Regions from separate parts of the Homo sapiens genome. Here region 2 is linked to region 1. The links are contacts of gene promoters, found by promoter capture Hi-C in blood cells and fetal thymus (Javierre and others, 2016). All regions are on one chromosome and are shown on one strand. Each heading gives the region's core, a stretch centred on a gene start or on the middle of the fragment in contact. The rest is flanking DNA. Distances are from core to core; before and after follow the strand shown.

Region 1 (4,810 bases), core at 902-3,401:
TGGATTTATCATATGTTACCCAGTCATCTCCTTTCAAAGGTGTTCTGAGAGGGCCAAAGGACCTTCTTTTTACTAAAGCATTGAGAAAATATAGGGAATGCCAGAATCCTTTAAAAGCTCTGTAGCTGCTATTCTATAAGCCTGGGGATAAAGATGCTGCCATTGCATGAAATCCCTAATTCCCTAATGGAAATAGTAAGATCCCAAAGTGATAGAGGCCAAGTGATACCACTGAGCCATCAGAGATGAGATATCTGTTGATACCATGATACCAGCAGGGTGTATCATATTGTTTGACTAAGGGGGATCTTTAGGAGTTGATAATTAATCACTGCCCCTATAATTGAAATGGATAGTCTGCTAAGATTCTACTTAATTTGTACAGCAAAAAATTTACCAGAACTAATGAAGAGACCTGAATGTCATAACCTTAAAGGAGATTTACAGCATCTTGACATTGGCTTTTTGACTCATGGCTATTATAATAGGAAGACAAAGTGGAAGCCTTTGGAACTGCCCTTATCTACTAAAAGATTAAACCAAAGGCAATACCATAGTCCTAGGGGAATTCCAGTGATTAGTGGCACTATTAAAGAGTGCAAAGATGTAAAGGTGGTGATTCTCCATCACACTTTCATTTAACCTTCTGTTTGTCCTCTGCAAACAGGTTATCTAAAATGTTGCTTTTTAATTTTGAAGTATTATTTGTATTCAAGTATCTTTATTCTATTTCATTGCCTGCTATTTTTACATTCTAGTCCCCATTTGTTGCCATGAAGATAGAAATCACAATTTCTACCCAACACTGTAGTGTTGCATCCTGCACACAAACGTACTTTAGTGAGCTCATATGTTTATGTTTATGTATCATCTATGGCTTTTCTTGGTAAGACAATGGCAGAGTTAAATAGTATCACAGAGACCATATGACCTGCAAAACCTATTAATAAAATATTATCTGGCTGTATGAGCACATTTTCATACTGCTATAAAGAATTGCCTGAGACTGGGTAATTTATAAAGGAAAGGGGTTTAATTGACTCACAGTTCAGCGTCGCTGGGGAGGCCTCAGGAAACTTACAATCATGACGGAAGGTGAAGGGGAAGCAGGACACCTTCTTCGTTAAGGAGAAGTGCCCAGTGGAGGGGAAAGAGCCCCTTACAAAACCATCAGATAGCTTGAGAACTCACTAGCATGGGGGTAAACGGCCCCCATGATTCCATTACCTTCATCTGGTCTCTCTCTTGACACGTGGGGATTATGGAACTGCCCCCATGATTCAATTACCTTCACCTGGTTTCTCTCTTGACACGTGGGGATTATGGGGATTACAATTCAAGATGGGATGTGGTCGGGGACTCAGAGCCTAACCATATCACTGGCCCTTTACTAAAAAATTTACTAATTCTGTCTCCCGCTTTAAATTATGAAAGGGACAATTACAGTACTGGTGGAAAAACATTGCTGGAGTGCTTTAGTGAAACCAATTATTTAGGTAGCAGCATGCCACGGTTATGGCTTAGTTGACAGTTACTCTACTTGTGAACTTCATAGGTTGGTGTACGATTCTTAACATGAATATTAAGTAGAGGCATTGAATGAAGATATTTTTCCAATTAAAATCTTGCTTTGCTTCTTCAGGACTTTATAAACCAGACCAGCTGGCTGTGGCACAGATACGAAAGACTTTGAGACCCTGAAGGCACCTTGCAGAACATCCTCAGGCTTCCTCATTTAACAGGAAAAAACCTGAGGCCCAGGGAGGCATCTCAGCTAAAAATACTACTATACATTTAAAAGGAGGTTTCTTCCGGTCGCAGTTGCCTTCACGTTTTCAAATCTTCTCTTTAAAAAGCAAAAGCAGGGCACAACCAGGCCAAGCGCCAGAAAACTCGGAATTGGCTTTATTTCCTTTTTTTCTAGTTGGGCTCGGTTATGATTTTCGGTAACGTACACAAATGCTGTCCTTGTCCATAAACAAACGCTTAAAAAAAAATGTTTACCCGAGAAACAAGGATAGACACGAAGCTGCCCTCCCTGCCCCGTTCCTCACCCTCTCCAATAGCTATAGGCGCTGCCCGCCGTCCCTAACCCGGACCAATCGGCAGCCTGCTGCGGGCCTGACGGGAGGGGTGGGGCCGCCGTTGCCAGAGAAGCCACTAGCCGGTTACTAGCTGCGCTTTTGTTCCACTTGAGCGGGCACTCTTCTGCGGCAAGCAGGTCTAGGAATTCGCCTGGTTCCCACCTCGCGTCCCTTGCCTTCCTTCCTAGTCTACCCACTGTAGTGCCCCCTGCGTCCCGCTCCCTCCTAGCCGACTCAGAGCACAAGAAGGATTGCCACGGTTTCCATTGCAGCAGCCGTGGCGCCTCTGACCCTTTTTTTATATCGCGGCGACGGCGGGCTGTCGTCACGACGACGTGCGGACGCAGCGGCGGGGGCGTAAGTACGCCTTTTGGGTTGGGGGCGACTTTGTGGGGAGCCTAGCTGCTGCTGGGCGTTTACCGCGGGAGCCCTTAGCGGTCTGGAGGTGAGGGCAGTGGTGGGTCCCGGAAGTAAAAGGCCCTCGCGCCCACCCAGCCCCCTCCGCGCAAACCCTCCACCTCCCTCAGGCTGACTACCTGGCCTGGGAAAAGGGCGGCGAGACTCACTCTTAGGAAGGGTGTGGTCCCCGGGACATCAGGGCAAATGTTAGCGTGAGGTGGGCTTGTGCAGAACGAAGTCCTGACCGGGCCGTTCCTGGATATGGTTGCATTTCTTTCAGAAATAGTGACCTCTTAATCATTGGGCTGGTTTTTAATCGCCCATCATGTGATATATCAGATTGTAGGAAGCCCTGGGGGCTTCGTAAGTGAGGTATATTACAGGAATCCTCAGGAAATAATTCCTTCTCCAGGATTCCTCTAGGTTCCAGCCCCTATAGGCGACCCCTGTAGTGCGGGATTGACCTAGGGTCGTGGAGAGTGCTAAAGGCCGACTTGTGTTCAGTCCCAGCTCTGCCACTGAACCCGCTGTGTGGCCTTGTCTAGGTCACTGAACCTTCCTGGATTCCTTACTGATAACTGTAACAGTAATCATCACTTTGGGGTGGTTGTAATACGAGATTAAGTAAACGCAGGGCCATTAAGGTGGCACCGAATGTAGGTGGTTAGTGAGTGGTGGTGCTTGTTGTTTACTGAGAATAACCATACTGGGGCTGCTGTTGGGGATAAAATCTATTTCGAAGACAGTTTCCTCATCACGCAACGCATAGTACGGTTTCAAGTGTTTTTGAATGAATGAGGTTCTTGGAGTTTTAAGTGCAACTGAGTTAAGGTTAAAGAAACAAACCGGGCCGGGCGCGGTGGCTCACGCCTGTAATCCCAGCACTTTGGGAGGCCGAGGCGGGCGGATCACGAGGTTAGGAGATCGAGACCATCCTGGCCAACACGGTGAAACCCCGTCTCTACTAAAACAAATACAAAAAGTTATCCGGGCGTGGTGGCGGGCGCCCGTAGTCCCAGCTACTCGGGAGGCTGAGGCAGGAGAATGGCGTGAACCCAGGAGGCGGAGCTTGCCGTGAGCCGAGATCGCGCCACTGCACTCCAGCCTGGGCGACAGCGCGAGACTCTGTCTCAAAAAAAAAAAAAAAAAAGGAAAAAGAAACAAACTGCAGAAAACCTGTCTGCTTTTGAAATTAGTTTGATATTCTGCTTATAGTAAGAATGTCATGATCATGTTTATGATTTGCTTTTTGCTTCTCTTTTTCATCTTCTTATTTCACAATGGATGTGTATTTATAGTGTAGTTTTTCTATCCCAAAAGTTCCTTGTGACAAACTTTAGAACAATGGAATTTAGTGATCTGGTCGCGGTCTGCTCTCTCTCTTTAGAATTGTAGTCTGTGCTTTTAGCTAGCTCATTCATCACTCATTTCCTTGTCCAGAACAGTTTTCATCTTTTGAATCTAAATTGAACTTATGAGTATTAAAACCTGACTGAATAAAGGCAAGTTTGTGTGTTACTTTTTGCTTTGTAGATTTTTATATTTATGTTTTAGTATCTCATGGCTTTTTTTTTTTTTTGAGATGGAGTCTCGCTCTGCCGCAGTGGAGTGCAGTGGCGCGATCTCGGCTCACTGCAACGTCCGCCTCCCGGGTTCAAGTGATTCTCCTGCCTCAGCCTCTCGAGTAGCTGGGACTACAGGTGCCCACCACCACGCCTAGCTAATTTTTGTATTTTTAGTAGAGATGCGGTTTCACCATCTCATGGCTTTTAATTCAAAACTGAGTTCCACCAATTCCTTACTTGTAATCTTGGACAAGCTATTTAACCCTTCTAAGATTTAATTTACTTATTTATAGCTTTTTAATAACAACCTTGTGAAGCTTTTGTGAGATGATGTTTATAAGGTCAGTCAGTGCTCTGCTCAGTAAATGGCAACAGCTGTCGTGTTGAAGGAAAGGAATATGCTTTATGTTTGTCTGGTACAGGATGGTGACTTTATTTGGGATTAGACAATATTCTGAACATCTTTGGCCAGGTCTTTTTCCGGGTAATTGGGCTCTATATGGACACTCAAAAGTGTCCGAGTTTAAACAGTAAATAATTTAGTCACCCTAACTTATATTTGAGAACCTAATCTATGCTCCCCACTGTGTTAGGTAATTTTTTAGGGCAGAGAGTGATGCGTATTATTTGTCCTCACAGTTAATAGCAAGTTTAAAAGAGAACTAAAATATGAGCATTTATGGAGCAGTTAAATTCTAAACTATATGATTCTGAAAATACTTTTGTTTAGAGTTCTTGATGGGCTGGAGAAATCAGGGCAAC
Region 2 (5,287 bases), core at 2,251-4,750, 520 kb before region 1:
ACTACAAGAAAAACAGACAAATCCACAATTATCAAAGATTTCAAAACCCCTCTCCATAACTGATGAAGAGGCAGAAAAAAATCAAGAATACAAAACACCATAACAATACTACCAACCGACATCTACAGCATACTTCAGCCAATAACAACAGAATACATATTTTTCACGTTCACCTGGAACATTTACCAAGATAGTTTTTTTTTATTTGTAATTGACAAAACTGTATATATTTATCATGTACAACATGTTTTAAAACATGTATATATCATGGATGGCTAAATCAAGCTAATTAAGACAACATGCATTACCTCACATACTTTTTTTTTTGGTATGGTGAAAACACTTAAAATCCACTCTCTTAGCAATTTTCAAGAATACATTGTGACAGGAGAATGAGGGAAAGCTTCGGGAACCATGTCTTTAGGTAAGTGAGGCAACAGAATCAGGTGCACAAATGACCGAACAGGAGCACTGACAGTTACCATCTATTGTTAACAGGCAGAAAGGCAGAATACGTAAGTACAGGTACTGGTAGGTGGGTAGATCTTAAAAATAACTAGGCTATAGTGAACCATGATTATGAAGTTCATCTATAAGTACATCCTTCAAAAATGGTCTTCTGGAGAGCAATCTTTGAACATTCATTATTATTTCAATTTCTCTAAGTGCCAAAAAGCTATTAGAAGGCCTACCAGAGTGGTGGACAGACATCCTGGAATTATCTTAATTGAGATCAACTATTTCAGGTGACTACTCCATGGCACTAGACATCCTATTCAAGACTAAGTGAGGCACCAATTACCAATTCTAGAATAACTGTATTCCTATTAACCCAAAGTCCTCAAAACAGTAGCTACTATGAGGTTTTCCAAATGATTTCAGAAGTGAGGAAATCTAGCATTCTCTGGAACATCTTACAGGTATTGCTGCATGGTTTCAGGAACTTACTTGTAAAAACTACCAAATTCCAAAAAGCAGTCTCAACCTTGGCCCTGGAATTAGTTGTTTAGTCTAGTAGAGTTTTAAGAACATAATGACTAACATTAATTCTCACCAATGGATGATTACATAATCCATTCTCAATTATTTTCCCCATGTAAAAGATTATTCCTAATGTGCTCATAAATCCATATAGAGATGTAAGAATACAGTCAACAAATATTATTTACAATGCTAAAACCCTATAGAAAATAAAGTTACCAAGCACATAGTTCTATCACTTATGTGAGAAAATATTTCACTGCACTGTTCGACCAGTCAATATTAGCAACAAGTGCGCTCTTGAAATTCGGGAAGAACTACTTTTTACCAGCCACAAATTCTGACATTTTATAGTAACGAGTCACAGTTAAATAGTTTTCATTTGGATTCCCTGTCCTTTTCCATTTCTCACTAGAAAATTAAGTCTACATTTTAATACAATGAAGTATTAACTTCATTTGAAGTTGAAAAACTTCTCTTTTTCACAGGTAATAAGCTTATCTCCTAAATTTAACTCACAATCTGCACGTTATGTTACTAAAAACAAAAAAAAGTCCACTAAATATGAAACATCTACTATAAATCTGTGATCCTTGCCATTAAAGGAATCACATACTCCTTTGCAAATCTGATGAAAGTTATGTATATAATTTCAGGGAATTCACTGATACCTTGAAGCCTATTTATGGGTCCCCGAGGTTTAAAGAATCTCTGATTAATGGAAAATAGCATCCAAAATTGATCCAAGAACATATGAAAACTTAGTATGTGATTAAAAGAAGGAATGTTAACATACAGTTGGAAAAAATGATTTACTGAGAAAATCATGATAAATCTCTGTAAACATACAAATGGTTTAAAGAGCCAAATGTAATAAACTATAAAATACTATAATAAAATACAGAAAATGTACACAATCCTGGCTCTGGGTAAGTCTTCCTAAGCAAAATATGAAAACGACTTCCCTAAATTGATAGATTTAACTGTGTGTATTTTAAAACTTCTATATGAGCAAAACACACCATAAAGTCAAGAAACAAATGGCAAACTTGGACAAAAACAAATAAGAGGCCGGGTGCAGTGGCTCATGCCTGTAATCCCAGCATTTTGGAAGGCAGAGGGGGGCAGATCACTTGAGGTCAGGAGTTCAAGACCAGCCTGGCCAACATGGTGAAACCCTGTCTCTACTAAAAATACAAAAATTACCTGGGCGTGGTGGCACGTACCTGCAATCCCCGCTACTTGGGAGGCTGAGGCAGGAGTGAGCCGAAATCGTGCCACTGCACTCCAGCCTGGGTGACAGCAAGGCTCATCTCAAAAAAATAAATAAATAAATAAATAAATAAAAATAAAAAAAATTTAAAAAAGACATAGGATAGATAAAGGATTACTAATTCTAATATTTAAAAAAAAAAGTAAACCACCCAATAGAAAAATAGAAAAAAGTAACAAATAAAAGGGCAATAAACATGTAAAGATGTTCAACCTACCTAGAAATTAGAAGGTAAATTAATTGAATATATCATTTCACAGCTTCACACTGGCAAAAATTAAAAGCTGATTATCTTCTAGTGCTAATGAATGTGTGCTGGCAGTGTAGATTACTACATCTTTTGAAAAACAAAAAAATGTTGAAAAGTAGATTTTTAAATCTGTTAAATTATAAAATATGTATATTCTTTGTCCCAGCAATCTCACATACAGAATTCATCCTAGCACAAAATGACATCAACATGAGTTAAACGGACACATAAGGATGTTTCCTATAATTGTTTATAATACCAAGAAAGAAAAGAAACACTCAAAAAAATTATATATATATGTATATATACACACGCACACACACGACAGATGGGGGACAAACTGAATGTCCGTTACTAGAATAATGGCTTAATAATTTATGATACATGCATACTTTGGAATATTATACAGCTATTATTAATAGAATGAGTAAGTCACATCTATATGTACTGACCTGGAAAGATGTGTATAACATTCAAGGCAAAAAAAGCAAGCCGCATTGTAATATGTGGACTACAATGCCATATTTGTTTTTTAAAAAATAAAAATAAAAAGCTGTATTACTGAATTTTTTTTTTTAGGAATTCCTAATTAGTGAATTTCCCAAGTAGTCAATGAGTACACCTCAGTTTTGAATACATCTATTGCTCTATTAGAAGTCTCACCATCAAAATACTGTACTCTCAAATCAAGGTATATTAAAGCCACTATCAGACAATACTATCCTTTGGAATCTTCTACAATGAAAATGATAATAACTACTTTTAAGGACAAAATGTTTAATAGGTTTTTTATGCCAAAATAAAAATGCTTTTTTAACATTGTGATTTTGCACGTATGGAAAACAGCTAGATTTTTCTTTCCTATAGTAAAAATAAGCTATCTAATTCAGTTGTTTCATTGGGTAACATAATTATGTTCATTACATGAATCTAAACAAGGGGCAGACGTTACATTAAACCAATTCCTTTGTATCAGAAATTCAATTTTCTCTGAATGATATTCATTCTTAGCAATAAATGCAATTAAACACTGATATTACAATTTTAAAACTCTATTCAAATACCTAAATCTCAGCGTAATGTCAATATAAAGTCTTAAGCAGCCGGACATAATTAAAGGAGCACTTGATTTGGAATCATACATACCTGGGTTGCAATCCTGGCTCTGCCACTTAAATGCGATGTGGTCTTGGGCAAGTTATATAACCTCTCTAAGCCTGTTCCTGCATCTGCAAAAATGGCTTTCTGTTGTTCTTTGGTTTTTTTTTTTTTGAGACTGAGTCTCACTCTATTGCCCAGGCTGGAGTGCAGTGGTGTGATCTTGGCTTACTGCAATCTCTGCCTCCCAGGTTCAAGCGGTTCTCATGCCTTAGCCTCCTGAGTAGGTGGGATTACAGGCGCCCGCCACCCCGCCCGACTAATTTTTGTATTTTTAGTAGAGATAGGGTTTCACCATGTTGGCGAGGCTGGTCTCGAACTCCTGACCTCAAATGATCCGCCGGCCTCGGCCTCCCAAAGTGCTGGGATTACAGGCGTGAGCCACCGTGTCTGGTCAAAAATGGCTTTAAATGGTGTTCTTACTTTAAACACGAGTATCTACGATGAAAAGTGCCTAGTACAGAATATGGTTGTCAAAATATGGTTTCCTCTGCTAGGCATGGTAACACCCACCTGTACTCCCAGGTATACCCATCTGTAGTCCCAGGAGGATTTTGATGCATATTTACTACTTTTTATGAAATTTTCTTTCTTGTATCACAAGAAAGCACTTTATATTTTAACTGTGGCATTATACATCTTCAGATAACTTTCTTTTAAAAATCATTCAGATTGTGTCTATGGAAGCAATTTTCAAGTATATGGGGAAAGAAATGTTAGGAAAGGAGGAAAATCAAAAATTTAAGTCATTCTAACCCACTGTAACGTGTCTAAGAAATCAACTCCAGACAATTCCAAATAGTAACAAAACAAAAAATAAGTACAAATTTTAATTTTAATATAACTTTCCACTTCAAGAGGAGTCTTTTTTTCTGTAGAGCTGGATCATTAATAACGCCAGAATATGACCCTGAATGTCGCTAAATGGATCCAAAAGAAAAGAAAAACCAGACTGGATAACCTTCAATATTTAAAGTGGACATTTTTTTCCACCACACAAGATACATATTAATAAAGGAATTCGTAAATAAACTGAGTATCTCTTCAAATTTTACTCTAGAATTGAGGGCTGGAAGTAACTCTAGTTTTCCTCCAACTTTAGTTGCACTTCACTCAGATTTACTTGATGGTTTTTCTTTCAAGGCTCTTTAAAATGTCAAGGCTTTTGCAAAGCCTTGTACCAAAATAGCTACTATACATAATATTACAATTATTTTCTGGTACATTTTTCCTAAAAATTAATCATCCACTCACAGTAACATCTATTTCTTAGTCTAAATTACACTGCTGAGGGTTTTTTGTTTTTGTTTTTGCTGGCTTCTCAAAAGGTATTTAAAATGATTTTGAGGTGAGAGTATGCAAAAAACACTTCACATTACTTTTCCATATTCAAATTACATCCTCTTGAGCTGATTTTTAAGTGCCATGTACATTTTTAAATCAAAATTTATCACTGTCATTCTTTTAACTCTCGCTCTCCATGCTGAGCTCTTCCAAATGCCAAAGTGCCCTATTAATCCGAAAGTACCTATTATCTGTGCTTTTTTCTGGCCTGTCTTTCACAACTTCACACCAACTTTTTGTACTTTAGACCCCCTCATCCATTAAAGCACCTGTTAACCCTT

The links. Contacts are between HindIII fragments. The CHiCAGO score rates a contact against its expected background, and 5 or more counts as called.
Region 2: a contact is called between a fragment that was not itself captured here and the fragment with the promoter of ODF2L in region 1, in 4 of 17 cell types (non-activated CD4 T cells, fetal thymus, total CD8 T cells and 1 more). The highest score is 7.5, in non-activated CD4 T cells.

Annotation. Positions count from the first base shown.
Region 1 is chr1:86,393,664-86,398,473 of GRCh38, reverse strand. It overlaps ODF2L (outer dense fiber of sperm tails 2 like), which reads left to right and starts at 2,151. Exons shown (of 17, transcript NM_001366781.1): 1 at 2,151-2,441. RefSeq lists an enhancer at 2,177-2,226. The HindIII fragment of the contact is 6,956 bases long and covers 1-4,367 here.
Region 2 is chr1:86,916,008-86,921,294 of GRCh38, reverse strand. All of the region lies in intron 1 of HS2ST1 (heparan sulfate 2-O-sulfotransferase 1), which reads right to left. Among named protein-coding and RNA genes, the nearest start is that of HS2ST1, 4.0 kb to the right of the region's middle. The HindIII fragment of the contact is 4,042 bases long and covers 1,480-5,287 here.